Linked DNA regions of Homo sapiens: regions 2, 3 and 4 are each linked to region 1. The links are contacts of gene promoters, found by promoter capture Hi-C in blood cells and fetal thymus (Javierre and others, 2016). All regions are on one chromosome and are shown on one strand. Each heading gives the region's core, a stretch centred on a gene start or on the middle of the fragment in contact. The rest is flanking DNA. Distances are from core to core; before and after follow the strand shown. Region 1 holds the start of MAP2K3 (mitogen-activated protein kinase kinase 3). Region 2 overlaps LINC01563 (long intergenic non-protein coding RNA 1563). Region 3 has its middle 64 kb from the start of LINC02693. Region 4 has its middle 15 kb from the start of LINC01563.

What was found. The method cuts DNA at HindIII sites, captures the fragments that hold promoters and counts their contacts. A CHiCAGO score of 5 or more calls a contact.
Region 2: a fragment that was not itself captured here is called in contact with the fragment with the promoter of MAP2K3 in region 1 in 1 of 17 cell types (naive CD8 T cells); the score reaches 5.6 in naive CD8 T cells.
Region 3: a contact is called between a fragment that was not itself captured here and the fragment with the promoter of MAP2K3 in region 1, in 1 of 17 cell types (naive B cells). The highest score is 5.9, in naive B cells.
Region 4: a fragment that was not itself captured here is called in contact with the fragment with the promoter of MAP2K3 in region 1 in 1 of 17 cell types (naive B cells); the score reaches 5.0 in naive B cells.

What each region holds. Positions count from the first base shown.
Region 1 is chr17:21,282,301-21,287,579 of GRCh38, forward strand. MAP2K3 (mitogen-activated protein kinase kinase 3) reads left to right here and starts at 2,411. Exons shown (of 12, transcript NM_145109.3): 1 at 2,411-2,669. The coding sequence starts at 2,621. RefSeq lists enhancers at 1,483-1,983, 4,060-4,119, 5,260-5,279 and a silencer at 1,870-2,399. The HindIII fragment of the contact is 5,771 bases long and covers 1-3,390 here.
Region 2 is chr17:21,089,480-21,095,005 of GRCh38, forward strand. LINC01563 (long intergenic non-protein coding RNA 1563) reads left to right here. Exons shown (of 2, transcript NR_110896.1): 2 at 789-1,134. Among named protein-coding and RNA genes, the nearest start is that of LINC01563, 17 kb to the left of the region's middle. The HindIII fragment of the contact is 212 bases long and covers 3,765-3,976 here.
Region 3 is chr17:21,484,721-21,490,177 of GRCh38, forward strand. No RefSeq gene overlaps it. Among named protein-coding and RNA genes, the nearest start is that of LINC02693, 64 kb to the right of the region's middle. The HindIII fragment of the contact is 210 bases long and covers 2,239-2,448 here.
Region 4 is chr17:21,057,703-21,063,214 of GRCh38, forward strand. No RefSeq gene overlaps it. Among named protein-coding and RNA genes, the nearest start is that of LINC01563, 15 kb to the right of the region's middle. RefSeq lists an enhancer at 4,281-4,400. The HindIII fragment of the contact is 2,550 bases long and covers 2,436-4,985 here.

The sequences.
Region 1 (5,279 bases), core at 1,161-3,660:
CTCTGAGAGGCCTTCCTTGTCCCCACCCAGATGGAGATGGCTGCATCACCCAGGCACCCTCCTGGGACTTTTGCTCATGCATCTATTTATAGCACTCACATGGAGTTTTGTGATTCCTGAGCTGTTTATCGGGCTCCTGACTAATCCCCAAACTCCTTGTATGCGAGGGCCTGTCTGAGTCATCTGGCCGCCAAGGAGGTTGGCACGGGACTGGAGTCGCTTCACCCTGGTCTGTGGATGCTTTCCTCCTTCCTTTTTTCATTCCTCAAATATTTATCAGGCACCTACTATGTGCCTGGTTCTGGGCTATGCATTGGGAACACAGCAGGGAATGAGGCTCGGATGGTCTGGAGGGAGAGCTGTGTTAAAAACTGAGTCAGTAACAAAGACATCAGCAGCATAAGTGTTGTGCCTCAGTCTGGGGACCATGATGAGAAGGCCTCTTAGGGGTGTTCATTTAGGAAGCGGTCTGAGGGATGAGAGGGAACCAGCCCCAGGAGGCTTGAGTGGAAGAATGTTCTGGGCAGGAGCAGCAAGGGTGAAGCTGCTGCGGCAGGACCATCCCTGGCACATTTGAGGGGCAATACTGAGACTCTTGAACATCCCAAGAAGCAGAGTGCACAAGGCGGAGTGTGGCCTTGTGCAGAAGTCAAGGCTGTTGGCCAGTGCCTGAACCCAGAAAACTCGCTGGACTAGCCTTGCAGTTCTGGTAGAAAGGAAGCTGCTCCTGGATGCCCATTTTACAGACGGATAAGCACAGGTCACCAGGGATGATATGGCAAGGATGGAGGCAGCCCACAGTGTTTTCAAACTCACATTTCCTGGGCACCTAGTGAGTGCCAAGCCCTAGGCCAGGTGTTTCCACTCCTGAACTCATGAAACGCTTTCAGAGACCTTATTGTCCCCATGGGATAGGTAAACTGAGGCACAGAGCTGCTCAGTGACTTCTTTAAGGTCATCCAGCTAGTAAGTGGAGGAATTGGTATTGGAACCCATACCTATCTGAGCCCCAGACTCATGATTTTCCATCCCACTGCCTGGGAAGGGTGAACAGGAGACGCAGGAAGAGAATGGTGATGGCTGCAAGGCTTCCCTCTTATCTCCTGTGGCTCCCCACTCTGTGCATGGGGCCCTGCATCACCCCCACTTTACACCTGGGCAAGCAGAGGTCAGGCCCGGCCTCAAGCCTTTCTAGCAGGTGGTGGAATCTGCTTCCCTCACGTGAGGTCCCTGACAGGGTACACATGTCTGCCTGGAGGCCAGGGGCTGACCCCTTGACCTTTGCCTGGTACATTCTGCCTTCACTAGCCCTGGCTTTACATCCAGAGTCATCTGTTCCCAGCGCCAGATTGGTCAGCGGTTCCTGAAATCCCCCGAGGTTCCGTGTGGGAGCAGAGGGAGGACTGGCCCATCCAGCCATTATGCAGATGGGCAGACTGAGATCCTAGGAGGAGAGGAGAGAACGAAGGTCCAGGAGAGAGCCAGGATGGGGCCTCGGGGCTCGCGGGATAAAATGCACCGCATGCCGCCTCACTCCCTCTGAGACACGGTTTCCCCCTGTGTAGAACAGGGGCAGCAGTAACCAGCCACGAAAACTCCTCGTGCTGCCTCGTCACCGGGCATCGCTGAGCTCACCACCGACCCCGCGCCCTGGCCGGGCGCCTGGAGCGCGGGCGCGGGCGACGTTTGCTGGCGCCAGGCCCTCAGTGCGTGTTAGCGAGCAGCGCCGGGAGATAGCTGTCACCGCCGCCCGCTCACAGATGCGTAGACTGAGGCTCAGGTGTCACCACCTGACCAAGGCTAGTTCCGCTACAAAGCTGCCGACTCGGATCCGAACCCGGGTCCAATTTACAGAAAAGGAAACTGAGGCCCAGAGACACTAGGGAGCTTGCTAGGGTGAGGCAGCTGCAGGTTCAGAGAGCCAGGAGGCAGCCCAGCAGCGCACTTTTAACCCCCGCCCACTTCGGCAGGCCCAGCCGTGCCACCTTTAGGGATCTCGGGTTTTTTCCAGACGACGCACCCAGGAGAACGCGCCCGCGCATCGCACCCGCCGGGGCTGCGGGTCTGGGGGTGCCGGGCTGGGCCTGGGCGCCTGCAGGGAGCAGCGGGCTCAGTGGGTCCCGGGAGTGGGTGGGGCTTGCATGTTGACGGGCAGCGCGAGGGGCGCGGCTTTAGTCCAGGGGGCGGAGCCTGACCGGACCTGGGTTTTTCGGGCGGCTGGCGGACTTGACAGAGAGCGGGAGGGGCCCGGATCCTGGGCCTAAGGAGGGTGGGGCGTGTGCTTGACAGGCAGGGACAGGCCGGCGTCTGATAGGCAGAGGACGGGCCTTGGAAACGAAAGGACCAATCGGGCACGCAGGGGCGGGGCCTGAGTCAGCGCAGTTCGGCCGGGGTCTCCCCGGCGCTGCCCAGTCTGTCTCCGGCGCCGCCCGTCGCGGACTCGTCCTTGCTGCAGTCGCCGCCGCAGTCCTCGCCGCAGTCGCCGCCGCCGCCGCCGCCGCCGCCGCTGCTCCTCCGCCTGGCCTGGGCCGTCTGCCCGCAGCCATGAGCGTGCTCGGCCCCGGTGGAGCCCGCAGTCCTCTAGATTAGTCTCCACCGCCGTCCAGGACCCACTTGCAGCATGGAGTCGCCCGCCTCGAGCCAGCCCGCCAGCATGCCCCAGTCCAAAGGTAGGCGCTCCCGGCCGGGACCTCGGCCTGACCCCGCGCCTAATCTGGGGCCGGGCTGCAAACCCCGACCTTTCTTTGGTCCCACCCCATCCTGTTCTCGACCTGGCAGCGGCGTCCGGTCCCGGAACCCCTTCCTGTTCGGGGTCCCGGGACCAGCCCCCGCCTGGGCCCTCACCTGGACCCCCACGTTAGGCCTTGGGACTGCACTCAGGCCCGAGATCACCCAGGCTGGACCCAGACTAGGACTTTGTTCTGCTCACCCCATCCAAGTCAGGAGCCTCATTCTGACCTCATTTGGGCCTTATGGCTGCAGCCTGGACATGAACTCTCCCAGTCTTCTCCCTCAGCGGGACCCAGGTGAGATTCACACTGGCCTTCACCTGGGTCCTTGGGCAGCACCCAGTCCCATTTCTAGCTTCGGGTCCCAGGGCTGTATCCAGGTTGGGATTTAACTTGAGTCTCCATCTGGGCCCCAGAGTGCTCCTGTTGTTGCGGACCTCACTGTACCCCCTATGCGGGTGCTCTGGCTACACCCCAGCTCGGAACTCCCCGTCCTTCTCTCCCCCAGCTCTTCTTATCCTTATAGGCCCTATGTTGCCCCTTCCCTGGCTGGCCTGCACCCTGTCCTGCAGCCCTGGGCTCCCAGGAACCTTCCTTGTCCTCCCACCCCTCCCTAAGGTACAGCCCCCTCTCTACCGGCCTCTCTCTGTCTTGAGTTGCAAGCTTCTCCCTGCACTGGGGGTTCTCACCCCATCTTATTCTTGTCCTGGCTGCCTGGGATCTGGGCCAGCCGCCAGGCCAGGGTGCTGGCTGTGCAAGGGATTTGCTCTTCTCCAAGTAGCTGGCCTTCCTGGAAATTTTTGTGAGGTGGCAGCAGCAGGATTTGTCATGCGGAGGGGGAAGGATGAAACTCGGAGGGCAAAAGGGGAATTTTTTTTTTTTCAGGAAGAGGAAAGGATGTTTTTGGTGCGTCGGAGTTTCAGTAGGCTGGGTTGTGCGAGAGATTTCCAAACCGGACATAGCCGTAATGAATGGGCTGCCTCCTGGCTTTCTGAACCTGCAGCTGCTTCACCCCAGCAAGCTCCCTGGTGTCTCTGGGCCTCAGTTTCCTTTTCTGTAAATTGGAAGTAATCGCACCTGCTTCTGTGGACGTGGGAGTGTGGTGTGGGGTGGTGAATAGTAAAGAGCTCTGAGGCGTTCTCTCAGCGTAGCACCTGGCGCAGAGCCGGTGCTCACCAGGGTACACTGGCTGCACACATCTCGCTATTGTTTCCATTCTTCTTGCTGGAAAGGCCTCCACTGCTGGAAGTGCAGCCTCAGAGTGAGCAGGAGGAAGCACCTAGCAGCGGGCACCTAGTGGGCACTTCATCAGGGGTCAGCCGCTCTTCTGTTCTGGAGGGTGCAGGCCAATGGGAGCCCTATGTGGGCCTGGGGAGGGCATGGGCTCTTCCTGGCCCCTGCTGCTGGCTGCTATGGTGGCTGGAGCCGGGTGGGCTGGATAATTATGCCTTACATAAGTGGGAGGCCGGATCCCTGACCATTGCCCAACCACTGTGAGTAACTCGGGAGGCACTCGACGGGGGAGGTGTCTGGGGAGGGACTTGCACTGCACAGACCTCGTGGAGCTTGGGAACCAGGAAATCAGACACTTCTCCACTCTGGAGAGCTCGGGGAAGGGTAGGAAGCACTGTTTGTTTTGGAGGCTTTTTAGCTCTCCAGGCAGAGAATGCCTCATCAAAATAAAAGTTCCAGTTGCAGAGTTGTGAAAGGAGAGGGGTCATAGATGCAGTGAGAATGCTGTGAGAGGGCCAAAATGAACTTCTAGATGTGGACCCAGGTCCTAGATGAGGTTGAGGGGGCTGGATGGAGGGTCAGGGACCTCCCTCAGGCCCAGGGACTCTGTAGTCTCTTTGGGGTCTGGGGAAGGATGTGGTGGCAGAGCCACAATGCCCTTCACCAAAAACCCTATGAGCTCCTTCTTTTTTTCCATGTGCCATGCATTTTCTCATTTATTCCTCATAGCCCCATTTACTGATAAGGAAACTGAGGCGTTAAGTGCCTTGCCTGAGGCCACACAGCTGTGACAGGCGGAGCTAGGGTTCCCCCTAGGACTGTGTTTCCACAGTGGCCTTCCCCGTGCTCCCCTATGTGCCCCTCCCATGCTGGATGCCTGAGCTGAGCTGGTGGGGTGCCCCCACCCCTGGCCTTGCTCAGAGCATGTGCAGTGGGCCTGTCCTCATGGCCACGTCAGACCTAGAGGACAGACTGAGGCAGAGGTGATGCCTCTCCTGTGCACAGCGCTTTACACTGGGCCTGTTGCATTCTCGCTGCAAAATCCCACTCATTTGACAGATGCAGAACTCAGCTTGGATGGAGGAGTGGCCGGACTGCCCCCATAGGTGGAGAGCCTCACTCTGTGCCCACCCCATCCTGGGCACTGGGCCTCCCAGCACTGATCCCTTCTCCACCTTCTCAAAGGAATTTGAACAAAGCAGGGAGTGGCTGGCGCTTGACCTTACTGGAGCTTTACCTTTGAGCTTCCTGCCTGGCAGCAGGTGCCCTGCACTGTTTCCATGCCATGGGCCTGGGGAGTTTTCTATGAGTGTGTGA
Region 2 (5,526 bases), core at 2,621-5,120, 190 kb before region 1:
TAGAAGAGGCTAAATAAATCCATGTTGGAAAAAAATCAGGACAGTGAATTGCTTTGGGAGATTGTCAATGAAGACTGACCAGAAGGGGCATGAGGACAGTTTCTGGGGTTATGGTAGTGTTCTGCAAGAACTCCATGAGCCAGTCTCTGGTAGCCTCTAATCTGCTTTCTGTCAAATTCACAGAGACAGAAAATCAGATTAGGATACAAATCTACAAATTTTGTAGAGTTCTTGCCATTTATCTATTTGTTTTCTGTATGTCTTATATGGTTTTTGGTTCCTCAGTTCCTCCATTACTGCCTTTTTTGTATTTAGTTGATTTTTTGTAATGTTTCATTTTGATTTCTTTCTTCTTTCCTTTTCTGTCTTTTTTTAGTAATTGCCTAAGTGGTTGCCTTGTAAATTACATATGACATCTTAAACTTGTAACAACCTAGTTTGAAAAATACCACCTTAGTTTAAGTAGTACATAAACACTCTCGTCCTATGTCCAACAGTAAAAGTTAATGGAAGATTATAGCAACCCAATAAAAATGAGATCACTAAGGCCTCAGATCCTTCAGGAATAAAATTTTAGGTTATTCCTCCAGATACAGAACGCTGATCAGCTGAGAGGGTGGCTGAGGGCAAAGGTAGCAATGAAACAGATAGTGAAAGAAGGAAGTTATAAATATTAATGATGGTCTCTGACTAGTTATAGTAAAGAAGACTGTAGTAAATATGCATACTTTAGTCTGTTTGTATTTGTATATATGAATCAATTTCAGTTTTATTTCTCTTTTCTCCAGCTATTTTACATAAGGAAAGTGGGTGGTGATTAACCTCAGAGTCTCCAGGGACAGACTATCCAGGACTGTGCCTGAAATAGAAGAGGAATTAACATCATACAGAACTGAATACGGTGACTGAGGGGAGTTTGTGTCTCCCCTTTTAGGAAAGAAGATGAGAATAAGTATGAAGGAGAGTCATGTACTGTACATTAAGCAAAAGCATGATGCTGTTATTTGAAATGTTAATTAGAGGTGCCCACTAAAAACTGCTCAGCAATTTTCTTGGAGACCTCAGTGCTCATGTTATTCTTTCCTCTATCTTATGTTTTCCTCTCTCCTGCCCTTTTCAGAAACAGTCTACAGCAGAAGCCATTGACCCTGTTCAAATTACAGAAGAGCCCTTTTTGAATTTATGAAAATCCTGAAATATTAAAATTTATTATTTTAATATTAATATATTAAATTAATATATTAATCTACCCGCCTCGGCCTCCCAAAGTGCTGGTATTACGGGCATGAGCCACCGAACCCAGCCTCATGTTATGACTTTCCAACCATAATTTAGTGTTAACAAAGTAATCACAAAAGTAATATATTAGTTTGAAATTAGTAATGCCCACCAGATTCAATCACTAAAAAATGTGATATCATTAAAAACCATTTTTCTACATGTTAACAAGAGCCAACTTCTGTCCCAAGCAGGTTGAATTATCACAATTTCCTGATAAGCAGAGTCCAGCTTCCTAATTCAAACTCTCAAACTCATTGTTAAATAAGCCCAGAGGAGTTGGACATTTTCCATCACGCATGTGGGAAGAAAGAAGGCCAACGATGCTCTTCAGATTTAACAAGTAAACCTTAAAAGTATCTGTTAAGAATACAGAGATGCCCATGACAACACTATCACCAGAGCAACAACTATCAACTAAGGTAACCATGTAGAAATAATGTCCTTTTTGTAGGTCTTCTTTTCTTCCTTTTTCTTTTTCTTCTTTTCCTTTTTTTTTGGTGCAAGACATGGCAACAATTTCTAAAGTCTATGTTTACATTATACTTGCAAGAAAAGGCTTATTTTAATCACAGCACAAGTGGGTAACTGTTACAGATATTCACATGACTCTGCACTTCCCATTTGACAGCAGAGGGCAGGATTGTGGTGGCCGCTCTCAAGTTACCATCATCACAAATCAGCTTATTTAAAACAGTTTATTATGATTATAAATAATCTAAAATATTTTATTTAAAATAGATTATTTAGAATAAATTATTTTAAATACTTTGTGATGTAGAACATTCTCTCTGGCCGGGTGTGGTGGTTCATGCCTATAATCCCAGCACTTTGGGAGGCCAAGATGGGAGGATTGCTTGAGCCCAGGAGTTTGAGACCAGCCTAAACAACATAGCGAGACTCCGTCTCTACTAAAAATACATAAATGAGCTGGGTGTAGTAGCTTGCATCTGTAGCCCCAGCTACTCAGGAGGCTGAGGTGGGAGGATCACTCAAGCCCAGGAGGTTGAGGCTGCAGGGCTGTGATCGCACCACTGCATTCCAGCCTGGGTGACAGAATGAGACTGTCTCAAAAAAAAAAAAAAAAAAAAAAAAAGGGCTAGGCGTAGTGGCTCACATCTGTAATCCCAGCACTTTGGGAGGCCGAGGCAGGCGGATCACTTGAGGTCAGGAGTTCAAGACCAGCCTGGCCAACATGTGAAACCCCGTCTCTACCAAAAAATACAAAAATTAGCTGGGCGTGGTGGCACGTGCCTGTGATCCCAGATACTTGGGAGGCTGAGGTGGGAGGATTGCTTAAACTAGAGGCGGAGGTTGCAATGAGATGAGATCACACCACTGCACTCCAGCCTGGGTAACAGAGTGAGACTGTCTCAAAAATAAAATAAATAAGTAACATTTTTTTCTGACCTTCCCTGTTCTTTCTGAGACCCCCTTGTTAAATTTTAAGACTTGCAGTTTTTGAGGCCTGGTTCTGAAGTGAACTACTCAGCATTACTTGCAAAGGACAGACCTGCAAAGTGACGTTTTGCTGGCAGAAATGGAGAAGGAGCTGAGTACAGATTTCATGTAATAAAAGTGAAATGAAAATGAAGTGCACGTGGAAATGTTCTTCTCTGAAACGAATTAGACTATCCTGTATTTAGCTGTTTTGGGGAAAACATTCAATATTAATATCTCTTATGCTTCTTGAAACCACCCCCACCACCTTCTTCTTCTTTTTTTTTTTTTGAGACAGAGTCTGTCTTTTGTCACCCAGGCTGGGATACAGTCGCATGATCGTGGCTCACTGCAACCTCCACCTCCCAGGTTCACGTGATTCTCCTGCCTCAGCCTCCCAAGTAGCTGAGATTACAGGCGTGTGCCACCACACCCAGCTAATTTTTTTTTTTTTTTTGAGACAGAGTCTTGCTCTTGTTGCCCAGGCTGGAGTGCAGTGGCGTGATCTTGGCTCACTGCAACCTCCGCCTCCCAGGTTCAAGCTATTCTCATGCCTCAGCATCCTGAGTAGCTGGGATTACAGGTGCCCGCCACCACGCCTGGCTAATTTTTGTACTTTTAGTAGAGACGGGGTTTCACCATGTTGGCCAGGCTGGTCTCAAACTCCTGACCCAGGTGATCCGCCCGCCTTGGCGTCCCAAAGTGCTGGGATTACAGGCTTGAGTCACTGCATCCAGCCTTTTTTTTTTTTTTTTTTTGTATTTTTTTAGTAGAGACGGGGTTTCACCATGTTGGCCAGGCTGGTTTCGAACTCCTGACCTCATGCAATCTGCCCGCCTTGGCCTCTCAAAGTGCTGGAAGTACAGGCATGAGCCACTGCACTCGGCCACCCCTTTTTCATCTATGTTTGTGTGGTCTTTACAACTGCCCCATGAAGCAGGCATCAATTTCCATTTCACCCACAAGGGACTGCGGCTCAGAGGCCCAAATTCACACAGTTTTAGTGGTGGCTGAGGATGTGAAGCTGGCTTTCTGAGGCCTTGATAAGCTTCAGCAATAACAAGGCTGACTGATACTTATTAAGTAGTTACTATGTACCAAGACCTGTTCTATTGCGATACATAGATCCATCCATCCACCCATCCATCCATCCATATACAGTTGACCTTGAACAATCGGTGGGCGGGGGTGGGGGGGTGTTAGGAACACCAACCCCCTACACAGTTGAAAAACTGCATATAACATTGGATTCCCCCAAAGCTTAACTACCAACAGCTTACTGTTGATGGGAAGCCTTACTGATAACATAAAGTTGATTAGCACATTTTTTTAATGTTATATATATTCTACTCTGTATTCTTAACAATAAAGTAAGCTAGAGAAAAGAAACCATTATTTAGAAAACCAGGCTGGGCATGCTGGTGCACACCTGTAGTCCCAGCTACTTGGGAAGCTGAAGCAGGATGATCGCTTGAGCCCAGGAGGTTGAGGTTGCAGTGAGCCGAGATCCCGCCACTGCACTCCAACCTGGGTGACAGAGAGAGACCCTATCTCAAAAAAAAAAAAAAAAAGAAAGAAAGAAAGAAAGAAAAGAAAAGAAAAGAAAATCAGGCCGGGTGCAGTGGCGCACACCTGTAATCCCAGCACTTTGGGAGGCCAAGGCAGGAGGATCACTTGAGTCCATGAGTTTGAAACCAGCCTGGGCAACATAGTGAATTCCTGTCTCTACAAAAAATACAAAAATTAGCCAGGAGTAGTGGTGCACACCTGTGGTCCCAGATACTCTGAGGCCGAGGTGGGAGGATCACTTGAGCCTGGAGGTCAAGGCTGCAGTGAGCTGAGATTGTGCCACTGCACTCCACCATGGGTGACAGAGCAAGACACTGTCTCAGAAAAAAAGAGAAAATAAAATTATAAGGAAGAAAATATATTTAGTGGGTCGTCATAAAAGTCTTCATCCTCATCATCTTCATGTTGAGTAGGCTAAGGCAGAAGAGGATGAGGGGGAGAAAGAGGAGGAGGGAGAGGGGGAGGAGGGGTTGGTGTTGGGGTCTCAGGAGTGGTAAAGAAGTGGTGGAGGAGATGGAAGGGGAGACAGAAGAGGCAGGCACATTTTATTTTTTTAAATCCGTTTATAAATAGACTCATCCAGTTCAAACCTGTATTGTTCAAAGGTCAACTGTATGTATAATTTAAACCTCATAACAACCCAATGAGGTAGTTGAGACTGGCTCTGTCTGATGTTGACTCATTAGACTCTTCAACCCAGAACATATTTACACTTCAAAAAGTAAAAAGGAAGGCCAGCCGTGGTGGCTTACATCTGTAATCCCAGGGCTTTGGGAGGCCAAGATGGGAGGATTGCTTGAGGCTAGGAATTCAACATCAGCCTGGGCAACAATAGCAAGACCCTGTCACCACCAAAAAAAAAAAAGTTAGCCAAGCATAGTGGTGCGCACCTGTAGTGCCAGCTACTCGGGAGGCTATGGCGGGGGGAACCCTTCAACTCAGGAGTTTGAGTCTGCAGTGAGCTATGATCACACCACTGCACTCCAGCATGGGTGACAGAGTGAAAGCCTGTCTCTCAAAATAAAATAAAATAAAAACAAAAAGCTTTCAATTTCTAAAAACCTTGCATTCTGAGACAGGCCATGAATATAGAAGCTTCCAGGAAGCCTTGAAATACACCAAAAGCTTAGCATCTTATATAAACCATATCTTGTTTTTAATTAATCAAAGACAGAAATTTCTGGTTTTTATCAAAAGAAGACAAGCAACCTCCAATGACAATTGATGACATCTGTATAA
Region 3 (5,457 bases), core at 1,094-3,593, 200 kb after region 1:
AGATCATCAGGAGACTGGAGAATTGAAATGAGAATATGCAAAATATGCTTGACAATAATTACAAAAGGAGAAAATGCAGATAATGAGAGAACGGTCCTATTCAAAGGGATAATGGCTAAGGAATTTCTGGAATTGATGAAAACTATTGATCTTTAGATTCCAGAACCACAATGAGTGCCAAGAATAAATGAAAGTAGATAATATGCAGAAGTATTGTGATACTGAAGTAAATCAACCAAAATTAATGTTTAAGAGACCCAGAATCTCAAAAGTATCCACCCACAAGATAGTTTGCACTCAGAAATGGAAACGGGAGAAGGTTACAGTGGAGAAAGCATAATTTTATAAAACACACTCACCCAGGTGGTTGCAGTCCAGGGAGAAAGCCCACCTCACCCTCACAGCAGGGGAGAAACTGGCTTCATGTTTCTTGTTAGCGGTTGCACTGAAAAAGCCCGGCATCCCCTCTGTACTGTTCCTGCTGAAAGTGCAAAACCTGATTCTCAATGTGAGGACGTATCAGGCAACCAAATGGAGGGACGTTCTATTAAATGACTAGCCTGTATCTGGAAATACATCAATATCAAGAAATCAAAGAGGTTGCAGAACAGTTCCAGATGAGACAACTGAATGAAGGCATGGTTCAGGATCTTCTTCCCCTATAAAAACAATATTGGAACCGTTGGCAAAATCCGAAGAAGATGTGAAGGTCTGAGAATTGTATTGTGTTAATGAAGATTTCCTGTTTTTGATCACTGTACTGTGATAATGTAAGAGCTGCCCTTGGTTTCAGAAACACACGCTCAATACTTGTAGGTAAAGGAGCATCATGTCTGCAACTGACTCTCACAGGGTCTAGGAAAATAGTGATAGTATTCTACATCTGCACCAAGAGAAGAGAATTTAGCAAATGTAGTTGAATGTTAATATGAGAGGAATCTGAAGGAATCATAAATGGATTTTTTTTGCACTACTATTGCAACTTTTTTTTTTCTTTTTTGAGATGGAGTCTTGCTCTGTTGCCCAGGCTGGAGTGCGGTGGTGCGATCTCAGCTCACTGCAACCTCCATCCCCTGAGTTCAAGCAATTGTCCTACTTCAGCCTCCTGAGTAGCTGGGATTACAGGCACCCCGCACCATGCCCAGCTAATTTTTGCATTTTTAGTAGAGGCGGGGTTGCACCACATTGGCCAGGATGGTCTCAAACCTCAGGGAATCCACCTGCCTCAGCCTCCCTAAGTGCTGGGATTACAAGCCTGAGCCACCACGCCCGGCCGCAACTTTTAAAGTGTCTGAAATTACATCAAAATAAAAGATAGGAAAAATTAGAGAAATTAATGTAGACAAGGCAGATATCTCAACAGCCACACAACAACCATGGAAAGATTTATTTATTTATTTTGAGGCAGAGTTTCACTCTGTTGCTCAGGCTGGAGTGCAGTGGTGTGATCTCAGGCTTACTGCAACCTCCACCTCCTGGGTTCAAGGGATCCTTCCATCTCGGCCTCCTGAGTAGCTGGGACTACAGGCATGCACCACCACACCCGGCTAATTTTTGTAATTTTTGGAGAGACAGGGCTTCGTCATGTTGCCCGGGCTGGTCTCAAACTCCTGAGCTCAAGCGATCCACCCACCTTGGCCTCCCAAAGTGCTGGGATTTCAGGCATGAGTCACTGCACCCAGCCAGGTTTCTTTAATATACTGAGGAAATATAACTGTCAACCAAGATTTATCTGCTTACATAGTGATCACTCAAGATTATGAATTGAATCAAAACCTTTTCAGGCAAAAAAGAAGACTTGAAGAGTTCATGGCTAAGAGAAATTGCATTGAACTAAGTAGTAAGGATGTAGTTGAAGGAAACCAAAATATTTCACCCCATAATATATTTGGACACATTTTGAGATGGCTGTTTAGAGGGGCCTGCAAACAGAAGCAGCCCTGCAAAGCTGTCTTTTGAGGGGAAGGTTTGCATCTGTAGAGAATCCGCACTGACGCAGGCAAGTTTCCTCTGAAGCCTTCCCTTGTCTGGATCTAGGAAGGAGTCCCTCACAGTCTGACATATTTAGCCATCAGAAAGAAACATTTACCATCTATTCTCTCCGAGGACTGCTGTCTGTGTGGTTCTGTCTGCATTCTGAGACCACCTTTGCCAGCCAGGCCTCCTCCTCCCTCTCCCCTAACCTGTCTTGCTGTCATCCCAGCCTCTGTTCCTTCTGTAATCTCAAGGCGGTAAATAAGCTTCTGCACACCATTGTGGGGTTGGGATCATCGCTCTGGTCCTTCTCCATCTGCACATTAATAAACGTGCATGCCATTTCTCCAATTAATCTGACTTTTGTGAGTTGATTTTTCAGTGAACTTTTCAAGGGCAAAGTGGAGGTTTTCTTTTGGCCCCTACAGTTTTGGTGTCCTGAACAGAATACCAAAGCTGCTTTGCTCTTCTGGAAGCTTCAGTCAGGGGACCCAGGACCTGACAAGCTGGCAGAAGGGTAACAAATTCTTACCAGCCAGGCTTCTGGCTGGTCTCTCTGTGGAATCCAGGTGAGCAGATGGTAAAAATCAGTCATTTTTCCTCTGCAAGATGTTGATTAGTGTGAGAAAGGATCTGTGTGAACAATGTTGGGTGCAGCGACTCTGGTGTACTTTTTGGTGTGAATATTCATATTGTTTAGTGCCCTTCCTTCCAGGAGGATTCTTCTCCTCTGTCTTGGTCTTCCTGTGTTCTGTCCTGAGGAGAGGACTTGTAGGGTAGAATGGGGGCTGAAGATCCTGCCAGCCCATTGTTCAGGCCAGACCTGAAGAGCAGCCAGTCTGCGGCTGAGATCAGATGGGCATTCAAACTTTGCTGTGGGTCCTCAAAATAGAAGCCAAGCCAGGTGCGGTGGCTCCCAGTCCTTGGGGAGGCTGAGGTGGGCAGATCACTTGAGGTCAAGGGTTCAAGACCAGCCTGGCTGACATGGTGAAACCCCATCTCTACTAAAAATACAAAAATTAGCCAGGCATGGTAGCGAGCACCTGTAATCCCTGCTACTCAGGAGGCTGAGGCAGGAGAACCACCTGAACCCAGGAGGCAGAGGTTGCAGTGAGCCAAGATCATGCCACTGCACTCCAGCGTGGGTGACAGAGTGAGAGACTGCGTCTCAAAACAACAACAAAAACAAAATAGAAGCCAGATGAGGACCCCTCTCATCTTGTTTTATGCCCTGGAGTGTTTGACTTGTGACAAGTGGGAGCACTGTCTCTTGTTTCTACCATCTGGGGTGTGATTTTTGGGTCCCATCAGGTGTTCAGTCTGAAGATGCCTGGGAACCTGAGATACAAGGTTTTAGGCAGCACACTTTTTGCTCTGAATGTGTCCAGCTGTTGGGAATGTTTGTCTTAATAAGAAGTCCCATCCATAAGGAATTTTTGTGGTCTGGCCCTTGTTGCCTGGATAGTCCTGGGAAAGTCCCATCCTAGGAGAGCTGTCCAGTGTCATGAATTAAGGGGTCTTTGATGGGTGTCCCCAGAAATGTGTGGGTCACCAGAGGCACTGTGTACACAAACACCATCCTAACCATGTGTGGCAACAGAGTCCGTTGCTTTGCAGGGACGTGGATGGAGCTGGAAGCCATTATCCTCAGCAAACTAACACATGAACAGAAAACAAAACACTGCATGTTCTCCTTTATAAGTGAGAGCTGAACAATGAGAGCACATGGACACAGGGAGGGGAACAACACACACTGGGGCCTGTCGGTGGTGGGGAGGGAGAGTATCAGGTTAAATAGCTAATGCATGCGGGGCTTGATACCTAGGTGATGGGTTGGTAGGTGCAGCAAACCGCCATGGCACATGTTTACCTATGTAACAAACCTGCATGTCCTGCACATGTATCCTGGAACTTACAACTAAGTTAAATTAAATTAAATTTTAAAAAGAAAGAAAAACAATAGACAAGAAATAGGAACTAAGGAGCTAATTTTTATTTTATTACTTCAACCAATAAAAACTGTGGGTTAAAATTAAAAAAAGTCTCTTCCTATCTGAGCCTGTTTCTAGGAGTGAATTTTACTGGAGGGATCTTTGGAACTGCCTATCCTCACCCTCTTCAGGAAACAAGTCTTTCTTAAATGGTAATAGCCTACTCTAAGCCTGAAAAACCACATCCGGGGCTTTCCATGAAGAGGCTGTGGGATGGAGTTGCTATTAGAGTAAGTACATCATTGGAAATTCTAGCCATTAGCAGCCAAAAGATGGATTCTTTAAGTCAGAAAGACCTCTAAATTACAAAAAATAGTTTAGAGATTTCTTATTCTAAACAACTGCCTTATTTATGTTCATTGGAAGATTAAATTAAAAGACACATCATAGTGTCATGGCTTGCCTTAGAAATCCTCTTGATGAGGTTAAAGAGCAAAAGTCTGACCTGAAACAAAGCTAAAATCCTTCATATGCTCCAAATGCCTGCCCTGGGTCCCTTGTGGAATCTGCAGTGCCAGCCACTCCACCTTGCAGTCTATTTTTTTTTTTCTTGAGACAGAGTTTCACTCTTGTCACCCAGGCTGGAGTGCAATGGCACAATCTCGGCTCACTGCAACCTCCAACTCCCAAGCTCAAACGATTCTTCTGCCTCTGCCTCCAGAGTAGCTGGGATTACAGGCATGTGCCACCATGCCCAGCTAATTTTTGTATTTTTAGTAGAGACTGGGTTTCACCATATTGGCCAGGATGGTCTCAATCACTTGACCTCGTGATCTGCCTGCCTCGGCTTCCCAAAGTGCTGTGATTACAGACGTGAGCCACTGCACCTGGCCCCACCTTGCAGTCTTGTTGTTAAAATTCCACACATTCACTGCCATGGCCTGGGTGCAGGTCCTGGTCAGGAAGCCAGTCGCTTTTGGTTTGATATTTGTGTGACTTTTGACTTTGTGGCGTACCCACTTGTCATTGATCCTTTCCCCTTCCATAGACAGCTTTTGGTTTTCTGTCATCTCCTGTTTGAGGGGTTACACGGGGCTCTTAGGCTTTTGTGTGTATATGGTCAGCTGAAAGGCTGAGACCCTGGAAGATATGACTGGCAGATGTGGGTTGTACCCCATTTGTGGCTAGCAAAACTTTCCTTTCTTTGAGCTGTCTTTGAGGTGGTTCTGGATCTGGTGAGGACTGCTGTGCTCCTCTCTGGAGATGCCTCATGTGTCCTTGGTTAAGTCATAATCTTGATTAAGCCTTATTGGTTTTGGTGAGCCACTTGAGGCAGTATCTTTGTTTAAAAAAAAAAAGATCCAATGGTACAATCTCCTGTAATCCCAGCACTTTGGGCGGCTGAGGCAGGAGGATCACTTGAGCCCAGGAGTTCGAGACCAGCCCTGGGAAGCAAAGTGAGATCCTGTCTCTACAAAACTACAAAAATTAGCCAGGTGTTGTGGCATGGGCCTGTAGTCCCAGACACTCAGGAGGCTGAGCTGGGAGGATT
Region 4 (5,512 bases), core at 2,461-4,960, 220 kb before region 1:
AAACTCCCCAATTCTACTTTATTTTTGACTATTTTCTAACCTAAAGAGAAGTCATAAGAATTATGCAGTGAGCACCCATAGACACTTCATCTAGATTCTCTAGTTAGCGATACGTTTTTAATCCAGTTTTCTTACCACTTTACCTTATCTCTCCACGTATATTTTTAATTTAAATTTTGTGTTTGAGTTACTTACAGACACACTTTGAGTTACTTGCAGACAAGCTAGAAGAACTAGTTTCTTCTGCAAAACCATGGTGCAATGATCATATACTGGAAATTTAACTTCAATACAATACATTCCCCTATACGCATTGCCTCATATACAATGCATTTCATAATCCATATTCAGATTTCCCCCTAATTGTACCAAAGGGTCTCCTATAGCTGTTATTAGTTTCCATTCAAAATCCAACCAAGGCTCTCACATTGCATTTGGTTTCGTGTCAATTGTGACAGCCTTGTGAAATTTCTTTATTATTTGTTTATTTATTTTTGAGACAAGATCTCATTCTTTCACCAAAGCTGGAGTGCAGTGGCGCAATCACAGCTCACTGCAGCCTCTACCTCCTGGGCTCAAGTGATCCTCTTGCCTCAGCCTCCTGAGTAGCTTGAACCACAAACCACAGCCACCACACCTGGCTTTTTTTTGTTGTTTTTTGAGAGACGAGACCTTGCTGTGTTGCCCATGCTATTCAAACACCAGGACTCAAGTTGAGCCATTGTGCCTGGCCTGAAATTTCTTTGTGTGCACAGGGCCCTCTCTTCCCTGCAGATCCCAAAGTGATTTCTGGTAGATATCTTGCGTATATTCAGATGTAAAAGAAAGTTTGTCATTTTGATGTGTTAAAGAACTTGGGGGGTCAAACAGTCCCAGACTGCCCAGTGAGCATTCTCTTTCTTCCTTCTTGCAATGCAGCAACAAAGTCTTGTTTTAAAATTATATACCTCTGGCTGTCTTTTTCCCACAAGGGGAGCTGCAGACAGAAGCTGAAGGAGCTGTGAGTCATGCAGTCAGGATAGGGCTCTCCAGGCCCCCAGGGAGGGAGGCAAAAGTGAGGAGATGCATGTTCTCTGCAGTTGCCAAGAACCTGGTGGACCAGGGTACCGAGAGGCAAGCCCTAAGCCACATGCCAGTCAAACACAGCAGAGAGGTGGCCCCCAGACCTCATTTCTACTAAAGCAGACATTGCTTAGACATGATATAATCCTTATTGCCTGACTGTCTTTCCACATAAATTATCCTGAATTTTGTAATGACATGCAGGAGAATGCCATATCAAATAGACTCTTCTTGATTTGTATCGGTCAAAGTTTGCAGTAAGAAATAGTAAGAAATATGTTCTTGAGCCAAGCATGGTGGCTCATGTCTGTAATCCCAGCACTTTGGGAGGCCGAGGCGGGTGGATCACCTGAGGTTGGGAGTTCGAGACCAGCCTGGCCAACGTGGTGAAACCCCATATCTACTAAAAACACAAAAATTAAGCTGGGCACAGTGGCTCATGCCTGTAATCCCAGCGGCTCACGCCTGTAATCCCAGCACTTTGAGAGGTCGAGGCAGGCAGATCACGAGGTCAAGAGATCAAGACCATCCTGGCCAACATGATGAAACCCCGTCTCTACTAAAAATACAAAAATTAGCTGAGCATGGCGGCACACACCTGTAGTCCCAGCTACTTGGGAGGCTGAGCCAGGCGAATTGCTTGAACCAGGGAGGCAGAGGTTGCAGTGAGCCGAGATTGTGCCACTGCACTCCAGCCTGGGCCACAGAGCAAGACTCCGTCTAAAAAAAAAAATTAGCTGGGCGTGGTGGTGGGCACCTATTATCCCAGCTACTTGGGAGGCTGAGGCAGGAGAATCACTTGAACCCAGGAGATGGAGGTTTCAGTGAGCCAAGATTGTGCCACTGTACTCTAGCCTGGGTGACAGAGTGAAACTCCATCTCAAAAAAGAAAGAAAGAAAGAAAGAAAGAAAGAAAGAAAGAAAGAAAGAAAGAAAGAAAGAAAGATGCTTTTGTTTAAGCAGAAAAGGACACCATTGCTGGGTGCAGTGACTCAGCCTATAATCCCAATATTACAGGATCCTTGAGTGTCACTTCAGCAGCCAGAAACCTCTGTGGCCAGTGGCACCTTTGTCCAAGTTTTGCTCTGGCCTGTTTGGGCTCATTCTGCCCACTCGGCCTGGCAGGCTGTGCTCAGCTTGCGCTACTGGCTTAGATCTCATACTTGCCAAGGGTGAGCCAGGTGAGGAGCGGCAAGGGGTGTGTGAGCAAGCATGGGGCCCGGCCACTGTGCACAGCCAGGCACGCCGGTTATGGCCAGGCAGGCAGTTCTAGGCACCTGTACAGGCACCAGCTTCCTGCGAGGCTGTGGCTAGACCAGGCATACCATAAGCAACTTCCACAGCTGACACTGAGGAACACAGTGGTGCCTGGAAGCTTGGAGACACCAGGAACCACAGAGCCATAAAGGGGGAGGCACAACCCTGGCTCAGGGAGCTCCTAGGTCTGGGTTCCCCAAAGGGCCACAGCTCTTCTCTCCTCTCTTTTTTTCTCCTTGTCACCCATAACATGGCAAGCAAGGGGTGTGTTTCAGCCCTGTTTGTGTTACAGCTCTCTTAGCCCTGCAATTTAGCAGGTCCTGAGTTCTTGTCCTGTGTCCGGGAAGAATGAAGTACTCAGATAAGTGAAGGGTGAGCAAGATGAAGAGGAGCTTTATTGAGCAATGGAACAGCTCAGAGGAGAGCCACGGTGAGTAGCTCCTCTCCGTAGCCAGGGTGTCCCAGTGAGTGTTCAGCCCTTAATAGAGAGGGTAGCTCCTCTCTCCTAGGCAGGTCGTCCCGATGAGTACTTAGCGCTCAGTAGAGAGGGTAGCTCCCCCGCAGAGAAGGTTGTCTTGTCATTTCCCTGCTCTCAGCAGAGAGGAGACCTTAGAGTGGGTAGCTCCTCTCCACAGCTGGCAGTCCCGACATCTCTTCTGGTCTGGCTAAGTCCAGGGTTTTTATGGGCCTCAGAAGGGAGGAAGCACATGCCAATTGGTCCATGGGCAGCCATGGGTAGGCCCAGAAAAAGCACCACAAGTTCCCATTCCAGTCCACAGGACCAGCAGCCCAGCCCCCGGGCTTCAGGCCCTCCCTAGCTTGAAGTTGGGGCTTCACTGGGGACCCGTCGCCTTCCACCCTGGGGCCTGTATGCCTCCTGCTGCCATTCATGAAGCCTAGGCTGTTCATGCCAAAGGGTGCCTGCAGACCAGCACCAAGCTGCCCTCAGCCCACTGTCAGCCTCCTTCCCATGCTCATCAGTGCCCAAGTCCAGAGGGGGCTGAGGTGGCAGGGGGCTGGTATGTCAGTGCTGCCCTGAGTGTGTGCACACCTGGCTGGTCTGTGACAGTGCCCAGGCTCAGCCCCATCCTTGCTTCAAGATTGTAGTGGGTGCCAGGAGCAGGGAGAGGCCAGATAGTGGGAGCAGACACTCCCAGCATGTGGGAGGAAGGGGGGCCATCCTGGTCCCCAAGAGTGCAGAGATGCCTGGGTCCTCAGCCACGGCTTGGGCAGCTGCAGCTGCCCCCAGGAGGGTAGGGCTCCTGCCTGCTTCCAGCCCCCAAGAGTACAGGGAGGCCAGGGTCCCTAGCTGTGACTTGGGCTGCTGCAGCTGTGCTTGGGAGGGTGGGGCTCTTCTGCTTCTGGCTCCTCCCAGTACCATGGAGCATGGCACTGCCCTGGGTCCAGCTCCGCCTAGGAGCCCCTTTCTGCCCGTCCCTCCGTGCTCTACCGTGCTGCTCCCCCACTGGCAGGCAACTCAGCCTGGCCCCATCTTGGTGGCTCCCAGGGTGGCCGGCTTTGGAGGGCTCCCAGGGGTGGGCTCCAAGGACTGCTCACCTCCTCTCTGTGTTTTCCCTGCAGTGGTGGCAGGTGAGGTGCAGGTGGCAGGGCGACCCTGGCCAACCCCGCACAAATGAACCTGATGCTCTCAGGGCTGGCCCTGAAAGCCCCAGCTGTGCCTTTGGCTCGGTGCTCACGGGCTCCCGGGATGTGGTGGGGAGCGAGGTTGAAGCCACAGCAGAGGCTCTGGGCCTGGGAGAGCGTCCTGCCTGGCTATGTGAGGGTGGGGATGATGCCATTGGCTGCCTCTGAGATGGGGCACAGGGGACCCACCACTGCCACTGCTGCTCCTGCAGCCACTCCTGCCTCCTGCCACCACTGCCTGTACCTCCCTGCTGCAGCTGGCATGATGGCAGTGGCCACTCCGGATGTCCCACTGCTGCCATCAACAACACTTTGGGAGGCCAAGGCAGGAGGAGCACTTGAGGTCACGAGTTTGAGACCAGCCTGGGCAACACAACAAGACTTCATCTCTAAAATAAATAAATGAAAAGACAAAGAAACCACCCAAATTCTAGGAGGCCACAGAGTGAGAACCCCTCCAGTTACCTCCACCAGAAAATGGGCCTGGGAAGCATGTTTGCACTGTCTCCTGCGGTCCCTCCCAGGCACGCCCATGTGGTGGATCCTGATCATGTGTTGTACCCTTGAGGAAATGGAGTCTGCGAAAGTGAATTTCTGGCCTTCCCATCCTGAAGATGAGAGACCCTTGATGTGGAACGTTCCCCAAACAGAGGGTGGCTGTTCACTAGGTGCTGGGAGGCCACTGGAGTGTGACAGAGGCCCTGTCGGCAGCCACCAGGAAGCACAACCAGAAACAGAAACTCAGTGCATTTCCCTTAGTGTTGGTGTCAGAGTCTAATTTTCAAAATGTTAAAAACATAATCCTCATAAAAACGAGTAGTGAGCATGGCATGAAAATTGTGTTTAACTCATTAGTGAGGGAACCAGCAGGAAGACATAGACAAGACAAAAGACGATATGAGGAAAAGGGAATTTTATAATCAGTAATGGGAAACGGAATACTGAGATAATATTTGCTCATCAGCTGGAAAATGTTAATGCTCCACCACAATCCTTCTCAAACCAGAGCACACAACAGAAGAAGCTTGGGGTGCCTGGCTGCACCCCGAGTTTGTGATTTTGTAGGTCCAGAGCGGGGCCTGAGAATCCACATTCCCAAGTGCTGCTGCTGGCCCAGCACCACGCTCTGAGAATCATATTCTCCAGGGAAATGCAGCTCTGGAGTGGGCTTTTCTGCTGGTGACAAAGGAAAATCACTGCACCTTATTGGTTGTCTGCTCATTAATCTTTAAGTTTAGAGAGTTGTAAATGTCTGGGTTCTAATCAGGAGTAAATGGTAGGCTAGGCAGAGGCATATCCCTCAAAGCTGTAATGTCTAGCAGGAAATTAAAAATCAGTTTACCTTATTTTCAAGCTTTGGATAAGTTTTCTTAACAGTGGTGCTGATGACACAAATGTCTTCTTTTTTTTCTTTGAGACGGAGTCCTGCTCTGTCACCCAGGCTGGAGTGCAATGGTGCAATCTTGGCTCACTGCAACCTCTGCCTCCTGGGTTCAAGTGATTCTCCTGCCTCAGCCTCCTGAGTAGCTGGAATTACAGGTGTGTGCCA